2 separate regions of the Homo sapiens genome follow, and region 1 is linked to region 2. The links are contacts of gene promoters, found by promoter capture Hi-C in human tissues and cell types (Jung and others, 2019). All regions are on one chromosome and are shown on one strand. The core of a region is centred on a gene start or on the middle of the fragment in contact, and the rest is flanking DNA. Distances in the headings are between cores, read along the strand shown. Region 1 overlaps MED12L (mediator complex subunit 12L). Region 2 holds the start of P2RY13 (purinergic receptor P2Y13).

Region 1 (7,420 bases), core at 1,784-4,283, 130 kb before region 2:
GTAAAAAAGGGAGACAATATTAACGTCCGGAGTTTATTTAATAGTAATATACCAATGTTAACTTCTTAGTTTCACCAAATGTACTGTGGTTCTCTTAAGTCATTTACATTAGAGAAAACTGGCTGAATGGCATATGGAACTCTCTGTACTATTTTGCAACTTCTCTGTAAATCGGAAATTACTCTAATAAAAAGTTTATTTAAAAGAAAGAATTAAGGGGGGTGATAAATTAAGCAAAGATGGCAAAATGTTGAAAGTGTTTGAAACTGGTTGAATGGTTGAGGGTTATGTGTTCCTTTCTTGGGTAAACAGAGCTTTGCATGTCTCTCTCCCAGGTGTCTGGGTGTCAGAGCTGGACACTAAGCCTCAGCTTCTTTATTCTGTTGTTCCTGTGACCTTGGTTTTACAGCCTTTCCCTGCATTTAACATTCTACTTCCTTGGAAGAAAGAGCTTAAATGATTTTCAGTGACCACATGTCATAATGAATCATGAGATAATTTAACTATAACAATTCATGAAAGAACTGCTAGACAATTGATATTGTAGGATACATTTTTTAATAGCCTTCCACCACTGGTTGCCCTAAACTCCCTGTTACCATGAGTTCAATTCAGAAGAAGCCAAAGGATATGCTAATATAACACTGACTTTAGGAATGCTACTGTCTGTTTTTTTTCCCTTAATAAAAAGAGAAAATCTGACTAGCTTCTCATTGCATGTGAGGAGACTATAAAAATATGGTTAAGAAAAGTGTTTTCCATGTCCCCATCTGTCATATGGGGCCCTACTAAATGAAGACCAAAGAGAAGAGGACTAAAGGGGGCTTGACCAAAGATTCAGAAAAACAGTTTCATGATGCTATTCTGTGAATAATACTTGATCTGCCCATTAGTGAACCATGTTTCCTAGACTACCAGCAAACACAGGTTCTAGTGGATAGGCATTCTACAGCCTGCAACTGAGGTAAGTCATTTACACTGTGTCAGATGTGTGAGGCTGCTGGAGTTTCTGTCATTACCATTAGCTAGCTAGAATTGTATAGCATTATCTTGTTGTATGTTTTGTAATAGGCACTTCATGCATTTTCTCATTTATTATTCACTGCAGAGTCAGAATATTTTTATGGAATTGTAGATAGGATTTTCAAGCTTTAGAAAATAATTTGTGAAATGCAAAAATGAGTTTGGAATCAAACTTGTTTTCCTAGCTTTCAGGAACACCATTTCTTAATCATTGCAGCTAATGCAAATGGATTTACCAGCGGTTTTTATATGGGCTTATTTTACTAATGAAATAAAAAACACAAAGTCATCATGTATGCTTATCTAAATTTTTCCAATATTCTTTTTCCTAATAAGTCTTTTATTTAATGCTGTGTATTCTTTCTGCATCACCAGCAGTGGAGAGAATTTGATCAGAGTTGTGACTCTGAGAGCTGGAGTCAGCTTATACTTTATTGTTATTTATTTATTTACTTATTTATTTGAGACAGAGTCTCGCTCTTTTTGCCCAGGCCGGAGTGCAGTGGCGCAGTCTCAGCTCACTGCAACCTCTGCCTCCCAGGTTCAAATGATTCTCCTGCCTCAGCCTCCTAAGTCGCTGAGATTACAGGCGTGCACTATCACAGCAGGCTAAATTTTGTATTTTTAGTACAGAGGGGGTTTCATCATGTGGGCCAGGCTAATCTCTAACCCTTGACCTGAGATCTGCCCACCTCAGCCTCCCAAAGTGTGTGAGCCACCACGCCCGGCTGGAGTCACCTATACTTTAAACTGGGGCCCTACGTGGAGTCAGGCTCATCTTTCTGGACCTGGGTGGCACTGAGTAGCTCGGCCTGTGCTACATTCCTAACACGGCCTTGCTATGCGAAGTCAGTGTATCTGTTTTATAAAGACCATCTGACTGGTGCTGTTTTACCATTGATGTGCTATCGATGTGATTTTCTAGTTCCAAAACACTAGTTTCAGTAGTTAGTATAACTTAACAACTCCCTCTGAAATGTTACAGGGCCTCTGTGTTTCATGTTACTTCAAAATAGAAATGAGAAGTCACTAAATGTATTATTACTAACATCAGGAAGCCTTTATTATAACCTACAGGTAGAATATAATTACAAATAATACATTAAAGATTGTCTATATTTTTCAAGCCTTTTTATAAATAAAAGCTTTTGGTTATTGTGTTAGAAAAAAATTCGACATTAAAAATTGGAGGAATAATGAGTTGAAAGATTACCATCTTTTGAAGTGATAGATTAGAAATAAAATAGGCACAAGTTGTTATATGTAAGCTGCATTTTTTAAAAGTAATCTGAAAGGCTTTAAAATTATGTTGCTGGTGGGCTTTCTGGTAACTTACATGGAAATTATTTTTTATATTTTTATCAAGAAGTCAGTTCCAGGCATTTAAATGAATAACTCATGAATACCTTTGGGTCTATGTCATGGACCTCTTTTGGATTTCAAGGATATTGCAGGATTTTACATTCGTTCAATGAGACTCTTTAGTTTTTTGTACAAATATTTGGGTTAATGAGTAGCAGCAAGCCTAACAATAAAGCTTGACTTGCATTTAGAAACAGGATTTCTAAGTAAACCTGTCCATATTTGCTAGCTAACTGTATTTTTTCATACTGAGTTTTTTTTTGTTTTTTTTTTTTTTATCTTTCAAAGCTATAATTAACTTTATGGTCCAGTAAGGCCAGAATTGGTAGCACAAAAAATCCTGTCTTTTATGCATTATTTTCACATCTTAATTTTTCTTTCTGAGCCTTGGTCTCTTTAGGTGAGGCAAAAGTCTCAGTGACCTTTGAGCGGAATGCTTTTGAGAGGTGATAGTACAGGATAGGATCAAAGCACAGGTTCGACACAGCCAGGAGCAGTGTAGCCTCTTTGGCTTTGAAGAGTGAAATCCTGGTTGAGCAATCAGTTATGACTTCTGTCTGGCTGAGGGTATACGGGATTCGGACAATGTGGTAAGGAACAAAGCATATGATGTAGCCCGTGGTCACTAAAAGTATGTTGATGAGAGCCTTTTTCACATTTGGGTAATTTTCATTATCTTTGTTTCTGTAGAGCTGTCGAATTACAAGGCAATTGGATATTAAAATGATGGCTGAGAAATTTAAAAATATTGCTACACATATGAAATTTGTCAGCAAATGCCAATTTCTTCCAAATTCCTTTTTAAACTCCATACAACCCACATTTGACTTTTCCTTGATGTCTTTGATGGGAATCATCATATTTGGCACCATTATAAGAAGGACCATTAGCCACACAACGGTTGATATCATTTTGGCAAATCCGGGTTCTTGTATTCGGTAGATCTTGCAGCTGTGTGTCAGCTGAAGACAGCGGTCAATGCTGACAAATGCTAAGAAGATAATTGATAAATACATATTGATATAGATGAGGCAGGCTGTTACTTGGCAGTGGAATATCTTCAGCTTCCAAGGTGCCACACCCAAGTCAACAACAATTTTCACTGGTAATGCCAGAGTAAGCAGGAAATCGGCTGTAAGCAAATTAATTAAGTAGATGCTCACACACCTGTGATTCGTATTCTTCTGTATAAAAGCCCAGGTTGCAAAACAACTTCCAATAATTCCAACAAGGAAAACTAAATAAAAAAAATACGTGAATGGCTCCAGATCTTTATAAACTGGGCAGAAGAACGAACTGTTTGTCATCTTGAGGGAAAGTAAGGATGACTGCTTATTGAAAAGAAAAAATTTCTAAGACTCTGTAAAAGAAACAAGGAAAGGGAGGTTAGTAATTAAAATTAGCAACTATTTTCTTTAAAAGACATTGGTCTTCACAATACCGTTGTCTTTCCAGTTCTTAGAATTTTATTGGTGAACTTACCAGACCATATGGCCTGGTGAGAACATACTAGATTGTGAAGATGCCTGGGTTTTCCATTGTCTGATTTTGTGACTTTCAGGAAATCCCATGCAGGTTTGCTTTTGGTAGGGATATTTTCAACCTCAGGTTTTTCCATTCTGGTAGTTCTTGTTACCAGTTGGGTTGGAAGTTAGTTTGCAGAGGAGATAAGTGAACCGAGATTCTGAGAAGTAGAGAGAGGAAACTAGGGTTGTGGTTGAGCATGAAGAGCTTTCAATGAGGCCTTCTGGTTTTTTTCTTGTTTTAGTTTTTTGTTTTCCATAGATTCATGTGGCTCCTAAGGCTGGGAGAACCCAGGCTGACAGGGGAAGTAAGGAGTTGATGGAAAATCTCCAGCCTGGTCGCAAGAGTCTGTCTCAAAAACAAACAGAAAAAAACCAAAAAAACAAACAAAAAAACCCACAACTACCAGAACATGGATGTATGTTCATTGGTTACAAAATCCTTGGAGAAAGATTTATTTATATTAGTATCAAAACATCTGACTTCAACACTTGAGTCGCTTTTTTTTTCTTTCATTGTGGGTTTTGAAGCAGTTAAAAGCCCAGAAGCATAAGACATACCCTTAGAACTACTGTGATCACCACTGATAATGACAATGAAGTCTTGTCATGTCCCTCCCAAATCTGGAACATTGAGCGGGTTTGTAAGCTCAAGTTAAACTGATAGGGCTCCCTTTGACCTGGTCTATTCAAACTCACATGCTTAGAGCTAAGGGTACATTAGTAATCTTTCTGGTGCTGCCTGTTGGTGTGGGTCCCCCTTTTGCACATTAAACAGTGTTCTTTTGTTTTAAAGACCTGAAGATTATTTTTGTATTTTAGCAAGGAAACATTTTATATTATAATACAACCTTTTTAAAAGAAGCAAATATAAGTTATAGTGACCAACATTGAAGGCCAGATCAGCTACTCTGTAAGTGCCTTTTAATAAGAGAATAAAACTTCTGACATCTTTCTAAATTTTAATTTCCCCAATTAATTAATGATCCTTTGTGTGCATTTGTAATGAAACAATGTATGCAAACAGATGAATAAGGCAGATGTACACAAAGCTTTCTAAATTCAAGTGCTGCTTAAAGGCTACATGCCCTTTCTCTTTCCCTACCTGAGTTAGCACGTTAGAGTCCATGAATAATGTCATTCTTTACCAAACTCGATGAAAATAATTAAGCAGTTGGTTTGTATCTGGCACTATGCCAAATACTTTACATGTACTTATTTAACTTCTTATCATTTCCATAAGCTAGGTGTTGTTATTGTCCCTGCTTTACAGATGAGGAAATTGAGGCATAATGGGGTTACTTACCCAAGGTTGTGTAGCTGGTAAGATATAAAGCCAGGATTCCAGCTCAGTCAGTCTGATCTCAGAATCACATTCAAAACCACTCCAAAACACTGCCTCAGTAACAATAGTAAGATGATGATAGAAATGATAATGATTATTATTATATCTGCCAGTCTTTACTAAGGGCTTACTGTGTGGGCAGGAACTATGTTCTAAACAATTTTTATGTAATAAAGCTGAAATAAACTATTTTTAACTTTTTACCAAAATACTAAGAATATAAGTTTAGGCTTTTCGTATATTTTGCTGTTCTATGCATACAACCACGTGCACACACTCTCTCTCTCTCTCTCTCTCTCACACGCACATTTAAAAACAAAACCTAGGCCCATCCAATAAGTTTAAACCAACTTTGCTCTCAAAGCTTCCATAACCTAGTTTCTCTCTACCATCTCTACTTACATCCCAGATTAAGATTGGGATTGGTGGGGTCTCTATTATTCTGTGTACAGTTCCTTCCTGCCTTTATACTTTTGCATGTGATAGAAATTTTGGAGTCATAGGATTTTAAGGATGGATGGAAACTTTATCGATAGCCTGTAGTCTAATCCCCAAGTCAGTTGAGGAGATTGAGGGCTGGCACTGGTGTGTTCCTCAAGCTTTCACAGCATGTTCAGGCAGGACTAAGATCTGTTCTTATTGGTCATCTTCTAAGCGCTCTGCATTTATCCTTACTATTCCTGAATCCTGCTTATTCCAGAGCTTTAAGGAAGCTCCTCACATCTGAAAGCTACTCCAGGCTTTACCGATGTCCTTGGCGACCATGAATTTGGATAGTTACCATTTGTACCTTGGAATTTTGAACATACTTTTCTTCTTTATGTGAAAAACTAGTATTCGTGTGCATTGATATAGTGTCACATCTTTGCTTATTGTTACTTTCTAAGGCCCTAGGATTTTGGCTTACGCACTTCTATTTCAAATATTACATAATAATGGTAACATAATGTGTTTCTTTAAGTGCTCCATTGCTTGCACAACTATAAAATAAGTCTGTTGTATCAATGAGACGTATATGGTAAAGAGAAGAATTAGAGTAATTTATTTTGATTAATTTTCTCTGTAGCTAGAACTGACGATATATACCGTACATGAATAATTTATCTGAAATGAATAATCATTCAGTAATTCTCAAGAATCATGGAGCATCTCACATTTCTCACATTTGTGTTTGTGAACTTTTGTCTAAATTGCAGTGAGAAACAAATCTGTTTATTTAAAATTTTTGCTTATGTAAATTAGAGGTTAAAATATTGTATAATAACATCCTGTGTTCTGTGTCACAAGTTTGAGAACTAAGTGCTTAATAAATATTTTACCAGACAGTTACTTACCAGTGAAAATGTGAGATACTCAGAAGTAGTGCAGCAACAACAATACAAGATTTTAACTGTCTCTGTAGTTTGGATAGAGTGCCCATTGCTTAGAAAATAAATAAACTGGCTGGGCACAGTGGCTCACGCCTGTAATCCCAGCACTTTGGGAGGCTGAGGCGGGTGGATCACTTGAGGTCAAGAGTTCGAGACCAGCCTGGCCAACATGGTGAAATCCTGTCTCTACTAAAAATACAAAAATTAGCCAACGCGGTGGCGGGCACCTGTAATCCCAGCTACTCGGGAGGCTGAGGCAGGAGAATTGTTTGAACCCGGGATGTGGAGGTTGAAGTGAGCTGAGATCGCACCACTGCACTCCAGCCTGGGTGAAAAAGCGAGACTCCTCAAAAACAAAACAAAACAAAAACAAAATAAAAGCTTATTAGATTTTCTATGGGAATCACAGTGGAATCTTCTTGAAATCACCTATTGTAATGTTTGTAGAGGAAAGTCATCTTAAGGCCTGTTGTTCCCTGTTGTGAAGATCTACAACATGGCCTCTATCCACCCAGTTATAAGATTGAGTTACTGAATAGTTATGCTCGCTCAGGTATTCAGTCTGGTGTCAATTATCCTGTCTTTTGGAGACAGATGAATGGGTTCATCAGATATAAGAAAATTATAGTGTCATTCACAGCTAGGACCTATTTAGAGTTTAAAAATTGATGCTTTTTTTTTATACAGCTTGGCTTTTTCTACTTATAAGCCTTAAATACTGAAAAATCACAATTTTGTTTTCCACGGAAAAGCATTTGAATATATTAAGTGTTTAAAAAGACATACCTGGGGCTATC
Region 2 (6,515 bases), core at 3,499-5,998:
CCTACATTTGGTTTCTATGTAAAATTTCAAATGTTGAGATGTGTTTCTGGGTGCTTCAAATGATTTGTAAATTCTGCACTTTCCTTAGTAGGGCTACTGTCTTCTAAGTATGTTTTTTCTTAAATAATAGATAATACTGACTTTGGGTTTTTTTGCTCTGGATATTCTGTTAATATCTGTGTGAACTTTGATTTGTTAATTTGCTGAAGGAATACAGTTTATGTCGGGGTAAGAGTTAAGTATTTTAGAAAGAATACCTTGGAAAGTTATGAAAGGCAAAAGCTTTTAAATGGATATGGAATGTAAGAAATAATGGGATTAATAAGATTGAATGATTGTTTTATAAGTTATGACATAATGACTTTATCTACCTTTTGGCTTCCATGAATTGAGAATTCTCACTCCTTCTCTGCCTCATCCTTTCCACTTTACAGTTATCTTCCTTGGTTTCTCAAGAATTCTTCCGAGTGTGGGAACTTCACTCCCTTCAACCCCTCTCTTTTCTTGAAGGTTATTGGGAAGATCTTATCCTATTTATTTGTACAAGTAATTACATTTTAACTTTTGACAAAAGCCTTTGTATTCTGAGCTCACATATTCTATCAGTCCAAAGCTATTATTTTCTTTTATTCTTTTTGGTGTATCATTTATGACTATATTGTAGCATCTTGTTTTTTTTAATATTTTAGAACTTAGTATTTGTGATTGCTAGTTTAGGAAGTTCTTCATTTTGTGAAAGTGATTTTAGGAAGTTCTTCATTTTGTGAAAGTGATTTTAAGATCTCTCTACTATGCCTCTTCACCACGTTCTTGATGTAATAGATTATTTTATTCTACAGATCAGGCACTCTGCCTTTGAGTGGAATATTATAATGGAATGAAATATTTGTATTTATGGATGACAGATTTGGTCTTGGAATTTATCTTGAAAGATCTTTCCCAAAAATTGTATACTTTAGGTGTACCCACATTAAGTAGAGATTGAAATTGTCATTAGAGGCAAAATACACAGGTTACCCCACCAGACATACCTGGCTGTTTAACAAGGGTAGCTTGGATGCAGTTATTTACATGATTATAGTCTATTTGTGATTGTGTAATGTACTCAGTAGAGGTAATATGGATTTAGTGGCATCCCTAATAGTAATGATTATTTAATTCTTTTATCAGAGAGAATGAAGATCAGACATCAAGAGTACTTTCTAAAGGTGTTTGTTATATTCACAGTTACAAATTTTACTTAACCATTATCAATAGTGCATAGCTAAAGGATTTTGTCAATAGCTTTAAAACTTTGGATTTGGCTATTCCATGATCCTCCTGTTGTCATGATCATTCACTAGTGACCCCAGGAGCACCACAATTTTCAGGCCCTACATACATGTTATAGGAGAGTGGACAGAGCTTGAGCTTTCATTTCAAGAAATTTATGTTGTCTTTGGATAATAAAAACATCAATGAGAATTGGCTTCCCTTTTGCTTCTCTAATACATAAAATAAACCAAATGGGCTTTATTTTATCAAACATTTATTGATTGCACAATGAAACAATCTCTCCTTTCAGATATATACATCAGTTACTAAAAGAGTAGATACAAAGGTCAGGAAGTAATTACAATGCAATGTGATAAGTTTAATAATATAGGTGTGACAGCATACAGAGGAGGGGGTGATTGGGTTTGAGGTGATGGTGGGATATTGGCCAGGTAATATTTCATGGACCAAGTGATGACAACATAGGGTTTCACAGATGGATAAGAGTCTTCCAAGTGTACCAGGGGGAAATATACATGTGTGGTGCCAAAACAGAGTATGGCATTTTCTGAAAGTTAGAAATTTATACAAGAGTATAAAGTTCAAGAGATGGATAAGTAGCTAGGAGGTAAGGCCAGAAAGGTAGGCAAGTTCTAGGGCCTTTGAGGCCATGGAAGAAAACGTGGGCTTCACCCTACGATGGTCGTGTTGGAGCTCGTGGCACATTTACAGAGCTTAACTACTCCTTTATGTATTTTTTCTAGAAGATGTAGACTCTTATCCATCATTTCAGAAAGCCACATTTTACTTTTTTGAATCACAGAAGGATGCAAGAAAAAATACCAAGGTAAATAAATACAAGCAGGGTCACCATCCTTTGAAAAATCTCTCAATATGGATGTTACTGATTGTGGGTCAGCAATTACGTCTTTGTATGTATCGAGAATAGCAATTCTATTTAAAACATCTGTAGACCATGGACTGTAGGTCGTATTATGGGAGATACCAAGAAAATCTGGCATGTCTGTCTCTCAAGAAGCTTTAACATTTTTAGCGGATGCAGTCAAGAATATAGCTAACTAGAAAAGGGAGATCTGCATTGAGAACCCTATCACACACCCAAACAGTAGAAGTATTTGTTTTTAATGAGGAGGGTGGGGCAGGGGGATAGGGGTTGTGGTCCAGGAAGGCATTGCTGAGTAGGTGCCATGTTTAACCATCATTAGAGTATTTGCTGGACAGAAGGAGAATTCCAAAGAATAGTTAACACAGCATTCTCACACTTGAATTGTACACACTTAAGGTGTAAGCAAAGTGGCTTAATAATGGTGCTTGTGCCTCCTATGGTATATTATTGTAATGTGAAAGAGGCTGTTTGTAATTGTAAGGAGAAAATCCTTTACCCAGGATTTCAGAGGTCTTGCTGACCCACTTCAGTTCCTCAGACTCTTCAAGTCTGCATCCCTTTCAACCCCTGGCTGCAGTTTTCAGCAATGGACTTCAAGAGTTGGGCGTTTTTTTTTTCTTTCAGCACATATCTACATTTAAGGGGCACAAAAGCAGTAGTGTTATGTGAATTGTGGAAAAGAATGTGAGAAGGTGTTTGGAGGGGAGGTTTGTAGGGATATACGTTTCTCCTTAGTCTTTTCCAAAATGTTAAAGTGAAATGCTCTTGAAATTAAAAAAAAAAAAAAAGAAAGAAAGAAATAATGACCTCTAGTGGCCATTTGTATCCTGTTGCATTCTCTTAGTAATGGTTCATTCAGCTTATGAATAGATCTATGTGGATTTAAATTTTATATAATCTTTTCTGTACACGAGGATAATAAAATGTAAGAGAGCATTTGTTCCAATCTTTTTTTCTTGGTTAAATTTGATTTCCACATTATCTACGGAAGTCTCATCAATAAATAGAAGTTAACCCTATGTACAGTTGTCAGCCTAAGGTTATGTTGTCTGTCTGACTGCTATGATTTTCTTGGCTTGATGCTGTGGTCTTTCTCCCTTGCATACATGGTAGCTTTTCTGTGAATTTTTTACATAAGAATATGTATATTAAGGGATCCATACAAATGTTAGTTGCTGCCAAAAAGAGAGTTGTTTCTTTAGCAATAAACAGTTGATTTTGCAGTCTACAGTCAGTCTTATTGTTGGTTTGACTGTGAGTATATGGAACTCTGGCAAAATGAAATGGAGCAAAACACACAAAGAAGACAGCCACGACAACAAATACTTTGCCTTCCAGCTTTTTGTTGTTTTTTCTGTCCTTACTTTTGGACTTTCTATAAGAATCATATACTTTTTTTGCAATAACCACATAAAACACAAGCATTAGGATAAAAACAGTCCAGAAAATAAACTGGCATATGTTATTTACCATTTGATGCCATTTCAGCCCCAGAGGCCCCTTTAAGGAAGCACACTTTTTCACAGACGATGGTGTTGCTTCCTTGTTGCTCAAGATCGTATTTGGCAGGGAGATGAAGAACAAAAAGAACCAGATGAAGATTGAGACCGTTTTTGCAAAAACAGGTTTTTTTAGAAAAATATTTCTCAAAGGTCTGATGATCTTGAGGAATCTGTCAAAGGCTATGAGCCCTAACAGCACGATGCCCACATACATGGTCTCATAAAATATCACCGAAGAAAAACGACACACAAAAGCTCTGAGCTGCCAGGGTGCCAGGTGTGAGTCAGAGAGGATTTTGAAAGGAAGCATGAGTGTCATTATCAAGTCGGCCACCAAAGTGTTTTTGAGGTAGATGATGAAGGTGGAGGAGCTGGGGATGTGAACAAACACCCACAGAGCCAAAGTATTCAGCAGGATGCCGGTCAAGAAAACCACTGTGTAGAGGGCTGGGAATACCAGCTGTACTATCCGAGTGTCTCTGGGGCACCGCTCAGATCTGTTGAAGCCTTGCATCACTGTGGTGTTCATTGCTTCCAGTGTCACCTGTTACCAATAAACATATATACAAACAAAAGAAAACAAAAAGCCCTTCATGATTTTCAAATGCTATTTTTTAAAAACAGACTTTATGTTTATAGCATATTAACATCCTGCATTTATCCAACACTTTCAATAGATGTGTTGAAAAGGAAAATACTGTTTTCTGGCTAGAATTTTTAAAGCATATAATACATTTTTGGTACTTTTAACAGTACCATTACTTTCACATCCTTGTGAAATCCAAATAACAGGTTCTGCCTCATTCACAGGTGCTACTGTTAGCCATAAAACAAAACACTGTTTAAGAGATAATAATACATTATTATTACTAATACATCAGATTGCTGTAAATTATGTAATTTCTTATGCTCATAAACTATGGTTTGTAGAATATTAACTTTAAAGCACCTTTTTTCCCTTAAGCATATTCTTTTATATAAGCAAGCACACTCATAATAACAAAAATTGAAATTCACCTTTGGGAGGATACTCAGTTCTCTCTGTCTTCTTATGGCGGCAGTCATTAGTTCAGCCTACAAATGAGCATGTGAAGCAAATGTTCTGCTTTCTTATAGTGGATTTCCTTCCTTATTTTTACTTATGTAATGTGACCCATTAGAACCTCTTCATATTTAGACCTTTGGGACATTTGCTAATACTCTATTTTAGTTCAAACTTTCATACTGTTAATCTGTGACTTGAATAAAGAAGCTTATTTGCAATTATCTTTAAATTTCTTCATAACTTTCTTGAAGTTTATCTTCTTGATCTGCATGTTCAGTGAACTTTTTGAGTGCCTCTTGTATATAGTGGAAAGTAGAAAGATGAAGAAAATAGTCCCAAATTACAATCAAGTAGGAGAATAAGACTACCTAAAATCAGACAGAATAATCTTCTGTATCCTTGTAAACTGGATTTTCCAGTAATTTGTGTTCAGGAAGACGGTATGTTTATTTTTGTAGGTATTTGACTTAGTCTTCTGGTTTGGGGATCTCTGAGAGTTAACATGATGTTTTCTGAGAGGTGAAGACTATTAGATCCAGATTTTTGGAGTTAGAATCCCAGTTCCACCAATTAATTGGGATTAGATTATAGATAAATGATTCAACAGCTCTGTGTCTCAATTTCCTCATCTGTGTAATGGGTTTGAAAATAGTATCTAACACACTGTGTTATTAAGAATGAATTGGTTGCCTGGAATAGTGCTTGACATATAGGAGGCACTAAAAAATGTTAGCCACTTTTAGTGGCTTTTAGTCCCATTGCCATGGGAATGAATTGCAAATCCAGATAGAGATATTATACTCTTTCACTTAGTAGAGGGCCATTTTTAGAAATCTTTTTTGTATTTGGTGTATTTCGAGTGCAGAGGACTTCAGGAATTTCATCAATCAACATTGGGCCAATATCTGTGCATTTTTTTTGCTTTAATTCTCTTCAAGTTTGAAAGATGTAATGGTGCTTTTGCATAGAGAAAGTTGTTGTCCATGGCAGAAATCTACTTGCCAGGTAGGCATAGGAAAAGCGGAAATTAGGAGATCTTACGGAGGATGTGGAGTTCATGGTGAGTTTCATTTCATGTTTCTTGCCACAAGTGTTACCATGGAGTTAGACGAGACTAGTGTTAGTTGATCACAAAGTTTTGGGTGACTTGGCTTTGAATTCTGAGAAGAAAAACTTAATATCCCCCTGGACATTTTAAAATATGAGGCAATACAGTGTCTAATAGTTTTGATTAGACTACCCAATAACGGCACAGTTTGAAAAATTTCTCTTTGACTGAAATAAATTAATCCTTGGGAGTATAGATTCAAGATTTCATTAATAGAACATACATGTATGTCTTAAACATAAATGTATATCTTTTTGTTTGCTTCAGCAGAGGAAAAAAAATCCTTTATTTCTTAAGTAGAGAAATTTAACCTACAAAATTAATTGTAAATTTTCCTATAGCCCCAAATCCATAATCTAAAGGAAGATCTGGAATAGTTTTTCTTTAAGCAAGATAAATTCTGTGCAGGATAATTTCATAATCTGAAAACTGGAAATCACTTCTTGGTCAAATTTCAAAACACTGAAGTGTGGGAAACTTTCCAAAGAGGAACTGACTTACAGTGCCTGTTTCTAGAGTTATGGAAATAGAGTCTCTTAAATGTGGTAGATGTCAAAGTGTTTGACTATAGTAAATATCCAATAGATCATTCATTTCTATGTGTTTGTGCTTCTTATGTATTAGCTGATTTTTCCTTAGTTTACAGCAGCACTATTGCCTGCTGGGGAGGCCTTTTGCCCTTGAAGACACAGCTGAGAA

The links. The method cuts DNA at HindIII sites, captures the fragments that hold promoters and counts their contacts. A contact is called where the count stands out against the background at its distance.
Region 1: a fragment that was not itself captured here is called in contact with the fragment with the promoter of P2RY13 in region 2 in 1 of the 25 tissues and cell types used here (hippocampus).

The regions. Positions count from the first base shown.
Region 1 is chr3:151,195,695-151,203,114 of GRCh38, forward strand. The region is part of intron 16 of MED12L (mediator complex subunit 12L); the gene reads left to right. It overlaps GPR171 (G protein-coupled receptor 171), which reads right to left. Exons shown (of 3, transcript NM_013308.4): 1 at 7,410-7,420; 2 at 5,215-5,303; 3 at 2,138-3,745. The coding sequence starts at 3,692. The coding sequence ends at 2,733. Among named protein-coding and RNA genes, the nearest start is that of GPR171, 3.8 kb to the right of the region's middle. The HindIII fragment of the contact is 6,790 bases long and covers 1-6,428 here.
Region 2 is chr3:151,324,801-151,331,315 of GRCh38, forward strand. P2RY13 (purinergic receptor P2Y13) reads right to left here and starts at 4,749. Exons shown (of 2, transcript NM_176894.3): 1 at 4,681-4,749; 2 at 1,512-4,207. The coding sequence starts at 4,728. The coding sequence ends at 3,191. All of the region lies in intron 16 of MED12L (mediator complex subunit 12L), which reads left to right. The HindIII fragment of the contact is 9,309 bases long and covers 1,288-6,515 here.